Linked DNA regions of Homo sapiens: region 2 is linked to region 1. The links are contacts of gene promoters, found by promoter capture Hi-C in blood cells and fetal thymus (Javierre and others, 2016). All regions are on one chromosome and are shown on one strand. The core of a region is centred on a gene start or on the middle of the fragment in contact, and the rest is flanking DNA. Distances in the headings are between cores, read along the strand shown. Region 1 holds the start of AAR2 (AAR2 splicing factor). Region 2 overlaps DLGAP4 (DLG associated protein 4).

Evidence for each region. Contacts are between HindIII fragments. The CHiCAGO score rates a contact against its expected background, and 5 or more counts as called.
Region 2: a fragment that was not itself captured here is called in contact with the fragment with the promoter of AAR2 in region 1 in 3 of 17 cell types (endothelial precursors, M1 macrophages and M0 macrophages); the score reaches 7.9 in endothelial precursors.

What each region holds. Positions count from the first base shown.
Region 1 is chr20:36,233,096-36,240,192 of GRCh38, forward strand. It overlaps AAR2 (AAR2 splicing factor), which reads left to right and starts at 3,383. Exons shown (of 4, transcript NM_001271874.2): 1 at 3,383-3,408; 2 at 6,726-7,097. The coding sequence starts at 6,774. It overlaps LOC105372602 (a long non-coding RNA gene), which reads right to left and starts at 3,371. Exons shown (of 3, transcript XR_936695.2): 1 at 3,263-3,371. The HindIII fragment of the contact is 9,166 bases long and covers 802-7,097 here.
Region 2 is chr20:36,446,132-36,453,228 of GRCh38, forward strand. It overlaps DLGAP4 (DLG associated protein 4), which reads left to right. Exons shown (of 13, transcript NM_001365621.2): 7 at 566-806. Among named protein-coding and RNA genes, the nearest start is that of MYL9, 92 kb to the right of the region's middle. The HindIII fragment of the contact is 2,722 bases long and covers 2,445-5,166 here.

The DNA.
Region 1 (7,097 bases), core at 2,133-4,632:
GCACTCAGCACTAGGAAGGAAATACACCGGGAGAAGGGAAGGAGGGTCACTGAAGGAGACCACTTTAAATACAGTGGCCAGGTAAGGCCTCCCTGAGGAGGCGATCTGTGAGCTGAATGAAAAGAAGGATCAATCAACAAAGGCGAGGAACTTTGGTGCACATTCTAGGAGAGGGAACAGTAAGCATACAGGCCCCAGGACGTGGAGGGGCTTATTGAGCGGAGAAACAGCATGGTCCCTCCTCCTGAAAGAAGAGTACCTACATTGGAGTCTCTCTTCCTGTAACCCCCCTACATGGGAGCCTAGTGGGAAAAAATACAGCAATCCTCAACTTCGGCCTTTGCCCAGAACCTCTATATATGTTCCCATATCCTCATACCACCTGTCCCATTATTCACTTATTTTTCTTTAAATTGACTCAGGTCAAGTGCAGTGGCTCACGCCTGTAATCCCAGCACTTTGAGAGGCTGAGGCAGGCAGATTACCTGAGGTCAGGAGTTCAAGACCAGCCTGGCCCACATAGTGAAATCCCATCTCTACTAAAAATACAAAAAATTAGCCGGGTGTGGTGGTGCACACCTGTAATCCCAGCTACTCGGGAGGCTGAGGCGGGAGAATCGCTTGAACCCAGGAGGCGGAGGTTGCAGTGAGCCGAGATCGTGCTACTGCACTCCAGCCTGGGTGACAGAGAGAGACTCCGTCTCAAAAAAATAATAAAATAAAATAACTAACTAAATAAATTGACTCACGTTAAAAGCAAATGCATTTAAAAAGGAAACTATATTACTTCCACAAATGAAAAGCTTATGTTATTTGCCAAGAAAGGAGGTCTTCATAAAATAAATGCAAAAATATTAAAATTAACAACCACAATGCACTTAAAACCTAAACTCATCCCTTGGACCACCTGAGGTGCACACACCACACTTTCCTTTTATTCCACCAAGCAACTCACCTCAGCCCACCTTTATTGCTGCAAATCTCACCAGCGAGTCTTTTCCATGTGTATGTATTTTTCCAGAGTTGGTCATCTTGTACATACTTTTGTAAATACTTTAAAATATATATATGTACATATATGTATATATATGTACATATATATCTATATACACGTATATATATCCTGAGCATTTCCGTATACTTTCAAATACTAAATACTTATTTTCTTTGGAAAGGTAATTCATTAAATGATACAAAGACTATGCAGTGAAAAGTGATTCTTCAGCCTTCTCCAGATTTCTGTCTCTTGTCAGAGGCAATTGCTGCGAGGAACATTATGAATCCTTCTCTGAATTTTCCCTATAGGTCTCCTTTAGCAATCTGTTATCCCTAGGGTTCTGGAATAGGACTTGGTTTACAAACAATGGGTCTTCATATGATTCCTCAGGACCCCATACACCCTGATCCATATTTCTGTCTCCCATAAAGGACCATCCTGACTCGGCTTTTGTCGAATAATCAAAGGTAAGTTCACCCAGATTAGTGTTTTTCAACTGCATTGAGAGTGGGGAAATGACCCCTCCTCCTTTACCCCCAACCCCCGCCCCGGGGACATTTAGCAATGGTTGTCACAACTGAGGGGTGCTACTAGCTCTAGTGGGTAGACGCCAGGGTTGCTGCTAAACATCCTACAATGCACAGGACAGCCACATACAACAAATACTTATCTGGCCCCAAATGTCAATAGTGCCAAGGTTGAGAAATTCTGATCTAAATGGACATGTGACCCACAAGGTGGGACTCCTAGGCCACCATTTACAGCTTCTACAACCAGTGTTCAGTGTCCTGGAGTCTCTGAAAAGACGGTGAGCCCAACTGAAACAGGGAGCTTTGAGACCAGACCATAGAGCTCAGCACTTAAGACTGGGAGTGGGGAGGGGTGGAGAGGGAGCTGAGCTTCTTCATGCAGGAGATGAAACTTGACAGGACAGGCTGAGATTGGTAAGCATGACTGTGACTGATGGAGGCTGTCTCTGGTTAATCCTGCAGCAGCTCATTGTGATTAACCATGACTGCAGGGCCCGGTCTAGTCTGCAACCCACTAAGAGATAAATTTTGACCGAGACAGATTGGCGTGTCCAGCTGTCACTGAGGAAATGTGACAGACAAGCTAAGGAGCAGCAGCACAAGAGATAAGAACAGACAGCCCTTGGTTTGCATTCTAGCTCTGCCATTCTCTGGCTGTGTAACATCTCTTTGAACCTCAGTTTTCTCTTCTGCAAATTGGGAATACACATACCTTACAAGGGTTAGTGCAAGGATTATAAATACCCAAGTGGGCCGGGCACGGTGGCTCATGCCTGTAATCCCAGCACTTTGAGAGGCCAAGGTGGGCAGATCACCTGAGGTCAGGAGTTCGAAACCAGCCTGGCCAACAAGATGAAACCCCGTCTCTACTAAAAATACAAAAATTAGCCAGGCACGGTGGTGGGCGCCTGTAATCCCAGCTACTTGGGAGGCTGAGGCAGGAGAATGGCTTGAACCCAGGAGGTGGAGGTTGCAGTGAGCCGAGATAGCGCCATTGCACTCCAGCCTGGGTGACAGAGTGAGATTGCGTCTCAAAAAAAGAAATACCCAAGTGGCCTGCCCTAAAATCACATAAGCCAATTCTTGGCAATAAATCACTTAATATAGATCTCCTACTGGCTCTGTATCTTTGGTGGAACCCTGATTAATAGTGCAGGGTTAGACCCACAAATAGTTATTTATTAATACCAAATTATCATCATTATTAATTAAATGCATAATATATGTACTCAGCTGAGCTTTTGTGCCTGGCTTTGTGCTCGGTTCCAGGGAAACAGTGAGGAACAAGACAGGCAGATTCCTTCCCTAGTGCGTTGATAGCCTGACTGAGATGTTAGGACTTGGCCTGCAGGAAGGACACGGGGTGATAATGGCCAGAGGGACTGAGGTGGCGACCGCTGCTGCTGCAGCAGCGGAGGCTGACGCTGGTTCTCTCTGGGCTGGTGGCTGGGTTTCTGAGGCTCTCCCCGAGGGCTGAGTGTGACTGGAAGCTGAGACACTGTGACCGGGATAGAGACTGGCTGACAAAGACAGTGACCGAGCGCCTGACTGGCTACTTCTGAATAGTAGCCACTGGTACAAGCCTTGGCTGTGCTTTAGTGACCATGACTGCTTGAGCCCAAAGTAAGATGGCTGGTGGCTGTGTTTCTGGACGGGGATATAAAATGCATAGGTTAATGAAAGTTGTTCACAATTCAGAAGCTAAAACGAGAAACTAAGAATAACAAAAGGCAACCTTGCATCCGGCGGAACCTGCAGGCACGGGCCATTCTTCCCGCGACCCAGGGCTCTGCCGGACCGCTTCCCCCGTCGCTCCAGTCAGACGCCAAAGCTGGAGAACTTCCGGTGCGTTTCCGCTGTACCGGAACGTGGGGCGAGGCGGTGAGTGTGGCCTCCTGGCCTCTTTTTCCTTTCCTGATTCCTTGTGTATGTGTGGCTGGGCCGCCCCTCTTCTCGGCTCAGAGTCACGGAGTGCCTTGAACTAGGCCCACCTCGCCGGGGCGGCTGGTTCTCTGTTTGTGGGACGCTGGTGTCTCTGGAGGCCCTTCCTGAGAAGCCGTCGCCAGAGTTACGTCGCGGTTTTCTTAACTTTAGAGCCTGGGGGCCGGAGACCCTGATTGCACTCGACCTGGCTCTGCCCTACTCTCTGCGTGACTTCCAGTAAGGTCTTTCCCCGAACTGAGGCTTTGTTTCTCGTTTACAAAATGGATATCATACTTGTATTAAATAAATGTTTACTAAGCGTTGAATCTGTGCTAGGGATACAGCAGGACTCAAGTCTCGTGGCGATGACAGCCTTCAATCAAACATCCAAAACTGCAGTTGTGATCATTGAGACGGAAAGGTACAAGGCACCCCAGATTATATCACAGGAGACCTGACCTAGCCCCAGGGCAAGGAACCTTTACTGAGGAGGTGAATATTGAGCTGAGATCAGAAAAAAGGATTTGACAAAGTGGGGAGGGAAGAGTTTTCTATATGGAGACAGCCTCCAATTTCAGGTTCTGAAAGAGGCCGTTGTGGCTGGAACAGAGAGCTTGTGGGGGACCATTGTGTGACACAAGCTAAAGGGGTTGCCAGGAGTCAGACCGTGCAGGCTTTGTAGGTAATAGGAAGAATTCTGGTTTTTCAAGAACCATATGGGAAACCACTCAGAAGCTGACATGGGTGGTGTTGTGATTAGATTGGCATTTTGAAAAGGTTACTGCTGTTGAATGGAGAATGGGTTGAGGAGCAAGCACTCTGAGTGAGGGACGATGGTAGCTTGGATTAGGGAGGTGGTGGAGAGAAGTGGATGGATGTGACTTTAGGTGTTCCAGGACTGTGAGGAACTCACAGAGCTGTCAGTGACAGGGGCTGGTAGACTGCAGAGTTCTATGCATATTTAATAAACGTTTTCCTAGCATCTCCTCTGTGCTAGGCCCTGTGCCAGCTGCTGGAGATATAGTGAATAGAATTACAGACTGGTGGAATTAGCATGAAAGAAACGTCATTATCAAGGAGGAGCACACAGATGTCACAAGGGAAAATGGCTAATTGATGAGCTGTTATTGTAAATGGAATATCTGTTCATTCAGCAAATATTAAATACTTTCTGAATTCAGGATTACAAATAGGAAGATGATACGTATTATTATTATTATTATTATTATTATTATTATTATTATTATTATTATTTTGAGACGGAATTCGCTCAGACCCCCAGGCTGGAGTGCAGTGGTGTGATCTCAGCTCACTGCAACCTCTGCCTCCCAGGTTCAAGCAATTCTTCTGCCTCAGCTTCTCAAGTAGCTGGGACTACTGGCGCACACCACCATGCGCGGCTAATTTTTTTTGTATTTTTAGTAGAGATGGGGTTTCACAGTATTGGCCAGGCTGGTCTCAAACTCCTGACCTCATTATCCATCCGCCTCGGCCTCCCAAAGTGCTGTGATTACAGGCGTGAGCCACCACGCCCGGCCTGTTGATACGAATTATTTAGAGCAGAGTCTTTCAAACTTTTATGACTGTGACCTACAGTAACGAATACATTTTATGGCACAACCAAGTATACACACAAACACACAAAGCTCCAGAAAACAGTACTTAGCTTTACTACTCATGATGTATTGTGATATTTCAAAAATTCTGTTATTTTCGTTTAAAAAATAATGCTGGTTGAGACCTTCACATTGATTTCCTAATCCACTAATGGATTGTGACTTGCAGTTTGGTGAAACACAAAGTGCTGATTCAGGGTAAGAGTCATTTGTGGTGGTTTTGAGGTAACAATGATAAAATGTGCTCTTATTTTTGGAAAAGGATTGGTCTTCCTTTCTGCACTGCTTTATTTAAAGTAAAAAGGGTAAACAGGGCCAGGCATGGTGGCTCACACCTGTTATCTCAGCACTTTGGGAGGCCGAGGCGGGCAGATCACTGAGGTCAGGAGTTCCAGACTAGCCTAGGCCACATGGTGAGACCCTCTCTGTACTAAAAATACAAAACTTAGCCAGGTGTGGTGGCACACACCGGTAGTCTCAGCTGCTTGGGAGGCTGAGGCACAAGAATTGCTTGAACCCGGGAGGTGGACGATGTAGTGAGCCGAGATCACGCCACTGCACTCCAGCTGGGGTGACAGAGCGAGACCCTGTCTCAAAAAAAAAAAAAAAAAAAGTAAACAATTAAACAGGCAGCTCGTTTTTCTGTGTGTGAAATTTTGACGTCTTGGCTAGATTGGAATTGCCTAGAGGGCAGTGACTGTCTTAATCTGTGATGTTTTTTGGGGGCCTGGCAAAGATCCTGGCACAATGCAGGCACTCAGTGAGTATTTGTTAAATTAGTCAGGTAGGTATCTTAGGACTAGAAGGTTGCATAATGGTTTGTTTACATTTGTTCATGTTGGTACCATTCTTGCCGATATCCCAGAGGCAATGTCTGGGATATTCAGAAGTAGGTAAAATAAGTGTACTAAGCTCTTTCTCTTCTGGCCAGCTTTCTCTTCCTAGGCTAGCTTTACCACCTGAATTCATTCTGGATGAATGGTCCAGAGCCACCACTGATTGTGGGCTCTTTGGGAAGTTGTTTCACTCCCTGGAGTTTAGGTTTTTTATGAGTGAAAGAAGAGGGGAGATTTGTGGTAGGAAAGCTCTCTAGACCCTGAACAAACTTTAGATGCTGAGCCTCCACTTGCTACCGTCTGTCCATTTCTGGGCCTTCCCTGAGGCTTATGGGAAACTGGATATGTACTTGATTTAATCTTTCCAAATCTTTTGGGATAGTTTTTTGGCAGAATTGTAGTTTTAAATGATGTAGGCATATAGTTTAGAGTGACCTGTCCAGGCATTTTCCACCCTCACCCTCTGTTGTGAGAAAGAGATCTGAGAAGATATTAAGAATGGACGGTGGACAGAACACTGGCCTGCAGGCAGGGTATCCAGATTCTAATTTGGGTCCTGGTATGACCATGAGCATGTCACTTTTCTTTCACTGGTATCTTATAGCTGTGAAGTGAGTGTCCTTGCATGTTAAGCCAAAACACAAAAATCCTTTCCTTTAATCCTCGTTTTTCTCATCTGTAAACTCAATGCAGGGTTGTCATGAGGATTAAGGGAAATAATTATGTCAGGGGTCTAACTCAATATCTGGCACATACAGAATGCTTAGCAAATGAAGCATCTTTCCCCCACGTTCTGATTAACTCTGGTTTCTTTCTTTCTCAGCTGTTCATCAAAGAAAAAGGGTTCTTTTGGTCACCCACCACTGGCCCCATGGCTGCCGTGCAGATGGATCCTGAGCTAGCCAAGCGCCTCTTCTTTGAAGGGGCCACTGTGGTCATCCTGAACATGCCCAAGGGAACAGAGTTTGGGATTGACTATAACTCCTGGGAGGTCGGGCCCAAGTTCCGGGGCGTGAAGATGATCCCTCCAGGCATCCACTTCCTCCACTACAGCTCTGTGGACAAGGCTAATCCGAAGGAAGTAGGCCCTCGTATGGGTTTCTTCCTTAGCCTGCACCAGCGGGGGCTGACAGTGCTGCGCTGGAGCACACTCAGGGAAGAGGTAGACCTGTCCCCAGCCCCAGAGTCTGAGGTG
Region 2 (7,097 bases), core at 2,556-5,055, 210 kb after region 1:
CCAGACCCCTTTCCCAACATCCATTCTGTATAAGAGGGCTAGATTAATCTTCCTTAAATACATATTTGGAGTGTTGGTTCTGCCACTTCCTCACTGGGTACCCATGGCAAGTGTCTTCCCCTCACTGACCCTTGGTTTCTTTCCTTGTAAAATAAAGGGATTGGACCATAGGATGGTAAATATCCAGCTACCTACCGCCACCCCCATTCCAACATTCAGGACAGACATTGCTAATTGATTATAGACCTCTTTCACACTAAATTCAGATGTGACCTTGAAATCTATTAATCAGTGTGGACCCTGATTTTTATCACAGTTAATATCCTGAGATATTCCAACTTTGTCCTCATTATAGAGATGGGAAAATTGAGGCCCAGAGAGGTAGGACTGTTTCTTTCTTAAGGGCTCCATCTCCCCATCCCATACGCTGAGTGAGATGGACAGGGGTGGGCTGAGGTCAGACCCCACAGACTGTCCAGCCCTGCCCTGAGCCCACCACCAAGAACCGCTCCCCCCAGGATGGGCAAGATAGCCAGCTCCCTCATGCCTGCCTTTGCCTGGACAGGTACGGGAGGCAGAGCTGAGTGACCAGTATGAGGCGGCCTGCGAGTCAGCCTGCAGTGAAGCGGAGTCCACAGCGGCAGAGACGCTTGACTTGCCACTGCCCAGCTACTTCCGCTCCCGCAGCCACAGCTACCTGCGTGCCATCCAGGCAGGCTGCTCGCAGGAGGAGGACAGTGTCTCCCTGCAGTCCCTCTCCCCACCGCCCAGTACCGGCAGCCTCAGCAATAGTCGCACGCTTCCGAGTGAGTACTGTGATGAGGGAAGGGGTTTTTTTTCTTTTCAAGGGGACCCCAAGGACCATACCTGGAGGGCCAGCCTGGGAGGATACAGGGAGGAATCTGTCTCAGGCTGGCCCGCACCAGGGGGATGGTTGGGAGCAAAAGCAGGAGGCCTTGGAGCTGAACTTCCAGCCAATTGGCCACTGGAGCTCAAATGGGGGTCCCAGAGGCAGATGCCACCCCTGGGGGGCATGGGAGGTATTGGAGGGGCTGGAGCTTGTAGGGTACTTGGTTGCTCCTTGGCTCAGAGCAGCCACCTGCTATAGTCAGGGCTTACTGCAGCTTGACCTGCCTCTTGGAATTAGTTCAGGTAGGCAAACCTGTAGGGCAGGTTGGAACCTGCAGAGAAGCCTGCAGTGAGGGTGGGGTCTGCACTGAGCCTTCTCAAAGGGATGTGTTTTACAGGCTTCTCTCATATACACAATCAGGGAATACCTTCTGGATTCTTGGGTGTTTTGTTGTTGTTGAGACAGAGTCTCACTCCACACCCAGGCTGGACTGCAGTGGCATGATCTTGGCTAACTGCAACCTCTGCCTCCCAGGTTCAAGCAATTCTCATTCTTCAGCCTCCCAAGTAGCTGGAATTACAGACACATGCCACCATGCCTGGCTAATTTTTGTATTTTTAGTAGAGATGGGATTTCACCATGTTGGCCAGGCTGGTCGTGAACTTCTGACCTCAAGGGATCTGCTCATCGTGGCCTCCCAAAGTGCTGGGATTATAGGCGTGAGCTACCATGCCCAGCCCTGGATTCTTGTTCTAAATCATCTGAAGATAACCCATATGTGATCAGAGAAAAAAGGGGACCCTGTATAACTGAGCAAGCCATGAAATAATAGAAAATTGCATGTTCTCACTCATAAGTGGGAGGTAAACAATGAGGACACAGGGAGGGGAACATCACACACCAGGGCCTATCAGGGGGGTGGGGGGGGGGGAGACAAGGGGAGGGAGAGCATTAGGACAAATATCTAATGCATGTGGGGTTTAAAACCTAGATGATGGGTTGATAAGTGCAGCAAACCACCGTGGCGCATGTATACCTTATTAAGTATTATTAAGATGGTCAAAAAAAAAAAAAAAGACGTAATAGAAAATTAGCTGGGTGCAGTGGCTCACGCCTATAATCCCAACACTTTGGGGGGCCGAGGCAGATCACTTGAGCCTAGGAGTTGGAGACCAGCCTGGGCAACATGATGAAACCCGGACTCTAAAAAAATTAAAAATTCGCTGGTCGGGTTGGCATATACCTGTGGTCCTCGCTACTCAGGAGGCTGAAGCAGGAGGGACATCTGAGCCCAGGAGATGAAAGGTGAAGTGAGCTGTGTTCACACCACTGCACTTCAGCCTAGGAGACAGACCAAGACCTTGTCTCAAAATAATAATAATAGAAAATCAAAACCAAGGAAAAACAGCACAATTTATTGTTTATCAATAGTAGAGAGAGGTTTGAGCTTACTCTGGCAAGCTAGTTCGCCTTCCTGAGCCTCAGTTTCTCCATGTATAAATTGAGGGCATAAGCCAGACTCCAGGGATCTCTTAGGGAGATGAAACAAGACTGTGCATAGGACATGTTTAGGCAGGGACTTTCTTGTGGTAGAAGCTTGGTAAGTGGTAGCTGTTATTGTTGGTTCTCAGACCTGACTCTGAGCTTCCTGAAAATCAAAAACAATTGGGGGCTGGGCATGGTGGCTCATGCCTGTAATCCCAGCACTTTGTGAAGCCAAGGTGGGCAGATCACTTGAGGTCAGGAGTTCGAGACCAGCCTGGCCAACATGGTGAAACCCCATCTGTACTAAACATACAAAAATTACCCGGGTGTGGTGGTGCACACCTGTAGTTCTAGCTACTTGGGAGGCTGAGGTATGAGAATTGCTTGAACCCGGGAGGTAGAGGTTGCAATGAGCCAAGATTGAGCCACTGCGCTCCAGCCTGGGTGACAGAGCAAGACCTTGTCTCAAAGAAAAAAAAAAGCAATTGGGGTTGGATTGTTGTAGGAAGAGAGGCACTGCTTCAAGTGCTCAACCGGTGTTTGATGTAAATAAATGTCTTCTCTGTTCCTTGTTCACCTCTGTTTCTGGTTCCTCCACTTGGGAAGGGATGGTAGCCAGGGAGGTGTCGTCTGGCATCGGGACTCTCTGATGCCACATACTGGCTCTTTCTCGCACCCTGCAGGGTCCCCAGTGCCATCTTTCCCAGCATGGGCAATCTTCATTCACCTCACTGTTTCTTATTCCCCCTCAGCTTCTCCATCTGGCAGTCTGCCTCCTCGCCACTCAGCTTCTTTCTGCTAGGGCACCTGGCCCTGCTAGTCAGGCATCTTGGGTAGAATCCTCTGAAGACAACTCCAGCCCTATTTTCCCTCTTGGTGACCACTTAATGTATTTGAAAACAAGGGCCTTTGCCTTCTGGGACTCTGAAAATATAGACTGGTCTGCTACAGCCTCCGAAAATACAGACTGGCCCGCTACAGCCTTCCTTCTAGTCCTGCTGTTACCGGTAGCCCTGCCAGCCTCTCCACCTTCAAGGTCTCCAAACAAGAGCTGAGGCCCAGGTTCTGTGGCCTCCACATCCAGAAGAGCTCTCCCAGGCTGTCCCAGGCACTCTGCTACAGTTCCAAAGGGGCCGTGGGTGAAGGATAACATCCCCCACATCCTCACACCCATGCGAAGTTCTCTAAGCATGAAGTGGGCCTGGAGGGATAGACAGCACCCCTAGCAATTCTCTTCAAATAAACCATCCCTCACCAGTTTTTCCAACCCCAGTCACTCATGAATGGACTAAAGATAGGGGATGGGCTACATGTCCCAATACTGCCTGGGTCCCTGTATTGGTCAGCTCTTGCTACAATTATGCTGCATAACAAACAACCACAAAATCAGTGTAATACAACAATTCACATTTATTTCTTGCTCCCAAGTTTGTCAGTTGGGACAGTTCTGCTCCACATGTCTTTCATCCTCCTCCTGGGACCAAAGAGTCCTCCTGGGATCAGTGGTCTAGCCAGGGCATGTTCTCCTTATGGTGATGGCAGAAGACAGAAGAGCAAGCCTAACTAACCAAACAAGCACATTTCAAGGCCTCTGCTCATGTCATACCTGCTAACATCCTATTGGCAACACAAGTCATATGACTGAGCTCATAGACAAGGGATGGAGAAGTATCTTCTCACCTTTGTGTAGGAAACTATATTCATATGGCAAAGGGTGTGGCCACAGGGAGAGGTAAAGAATCAGGGTCTGGGTGGGCGCAGTGGCTCATGCCTGTAATCCCAGCACTTTGGGAGGCCGAGGCAGGTGGATCACTTGAGGCCAGGAGTTTGAGACCAGCCTGGCCAACATGGCGAAACCCTGTCTCTACTAAAAATACAAAAATTAGCCAGGCGTGGTGGTGCCCACCTGTAATTCCAGCTACTCAGGAGGCTGAGGCAGGAGAATCGCTTAAGCCCGGGAGGTGGAGGTTGCAGTGAGCCAACATCACACTATTGCACTCCAGCCTGGGCAACAAAAGTGAGACTCCGTCTCAAAAAAAAAAGAATCAGGGTCAACAATTCTATGTTCCATGATCCACTGTCTTGGCTGTATTTACTCATGCCCTTCCCAGGTAGAAAACTTTTATTCCCAAGACCCCCAAAAGTCTCATCCAATCATGAGATTGGATCAGACTCTTATGATCTATGTCAGGTCTGGATGTGGCTTCTGTCGAACAATTGACTTTTAATTTTTTAAAGAAACTACTTATCTACCCTACAGTCTAACCCTCCCCAACCACACAGCATACACTGGTGAAACAGGGACAGGAGAACTGCAGTTAATACTCCTGTTCAGAAAAGGGGAAAGTAGAGATGCAGAGACTTATTGATCCATGGCAATTCTGAAGTCCTTCTGAGCAACTGTTGGGCAAATGCGTTGAGATTTGTTGATTAGGTACAAGTTCTCCCTGGGGTTGATCTTCTAGTCTACTGTTCTCCACAGCTCTTGGTTCTGCTCTCTGAAAGCCCTTCCTTCTCCATCAGCATTTTTGGCCACTTTTAAAGAGAACTTGGAGAATATAGCCTTGGGGAACGGAACACCTTTCTTAGCTTGCTTCCTTCCTAAAGAAAGTTAGGGAGCTAGATGTCTTTTGCATCTTGAACGGTCTTACTCCCTTTAGCCTAAGCTGGTCAATTTTACCCATGCACCTACCTCAAACATTTGATGAGTTTTCTATGTATTTGATTCCCTGTAACTTCGAGTGCCAAAAGCCATACCCATAATTGTTTTTGAGTCATGCCTCTCTCTTGACTTGATGCCTACTTTGGGCTTCTGTGGGACCATGCCCTTAAGCTTTCTGTAGGCCCTTTTGACCAGATAGTAGCATCTGCTACCTGGTATCTTGATTGATTGATTGATTGAGACAGAGTCTCGCTCTCTGTCGCCCAGGCTGGAGTGCAGTGGCGCGATCTCAGCTCACTGCAACATCTACCTCCCAGGTTCAAGCGATTCTCATGCCTCAGCCTCCCAAGTAGCTGGGAATACAGGCGTGTGCCACCATGCCTGGCTAATTTTTGTATTTTTAGTAGAGACAAGGTTTCACCATGTTGGCCAGGCTAGTGTCGAACTCCTGACCTCAAGTGATCCACCCGCCTCGGCCTCACAAAGTGCTGGGATTACAGGTGTGAGCCACCACGCCTGGCTCTACTATTTTTAGAGTGTTAATAAGAGATATTATAACCACACTTTGATTTGATCCTGTCCACATACGGCATCTTAACTGGCCATGACCTTGGTTTCATCTTTGCCCTGAGGCTGTATTTTTTTTTTTTTTTTTGAGTTTCGCTCTTGTTGCCCAGGCTGGAGTGCAATGGCGTGATCTCAGTTCATCTCAACCTCCGCCTCCTGGATTCAAGTGATTCTCCTGCCTCAGCCTCCCAAGTAGCTGGGATTACAGGTATGCACCACCATGCCCAGCTAGTTTTGTATTTTTAGTAGAGACAGGGTTTCTCCCTGTAGGTCAGGTTGGTCTCAAACTCCTGACCTCAGGTGATCTGCCTGCCTTGGCCTCCCAAAGTGCTGGAATTACAGGCATGAGCCACCATGCCTAACGAGGCTGTATCTTAATTTGAGAATGGTTTACTCTCTGGAGGGGCTGGAGTTGACAAATTTATTTTCCAACTAAACAAGTTCTGGTCTCCTTCCCTTTCCTCTAAACGCTCCTTGAAGATCGGCTATTTTTTACTTTTTTAGACAGGATCTCCATGTGTCACCCAGGCATGGGTGCAGTGGCATGGTCATAGCTCACCATAGCCTCAACCTCCCAGGCTCAAGCGATCCTCCTGCCTCAGCCTCCCGAGTAGCTGAGACCAGAGTCATGCAGTACCATGCCTGGCTAATTTTTAAATTTCTTGTAGAGATGGGGTCTCCTTATGTTCTACCAGGCTGGTTTTGAACTCCTGGGCTCAAGTGATCCTCCCACCTTGGCCTTCTAAAGTACTGGGATTACAGGTGTGAGCCACGGCACTTGGCCTAGCTATTTCTTTTGAGTTCCTCCTTTTCTTGTAAATCTTTTTTTTTTTTTTTTTAGACAGAGTCTTGCTCTGTTGTCCAGGCTGAAGTGCAGGATCTCAACTCACTGCAATCTCCACTTCCTGAGTTCAAGCCATTCTCCTGCCTTAGCCTCCCAGGTAGATGGGATTACAGGCATATGCCACCACACCCAGCTAACTTTCAAATTTTTAGTAAAGGTGGGGTTTCATCATGTTCGCTACGCTGGTCTTGAACGTCTGACCTCAAGTGATCTGCCCGCCTCGGCCTCCCAAAGTGTTGGGATTACAGGCGTGAGCCACTGCGCTTGGCCTTTTTCTTGTGTAAGTCTTTTTTTTTTTTTTTTTTTTTTTTGAGACAGAGTCTCCCTCTATCACTCAGGCTGGAGTGCAATGGCATGATCTCGGCTCACTGCAACCTCTGCCTCCCAGGTTCAAGCCATTCTCCTGCCTCAGCCTCCCAAGTATCTGGGACTGCAGGCATGCGCCACCATGCCTGGCTAATTTTTGTATTTTTAGTAGAGACGGGGTTTCACCATGTTGGCCAGGCTGGTCTCAAACTCCTGACCTCAAGTGATATGCCTGCCCTGGCCTCCCAAAGTGCTGGGATTACAGGCGTGAGTCACCACGCCTGGCCCCTTTGTCTTGTAAGTCCTTAACAAATGCAGCCAAAAGGAGCAAGCTCAGGCCGGGTACAGTGCTGAGCACGGTGCTATAATCCCAGCACCGTAGG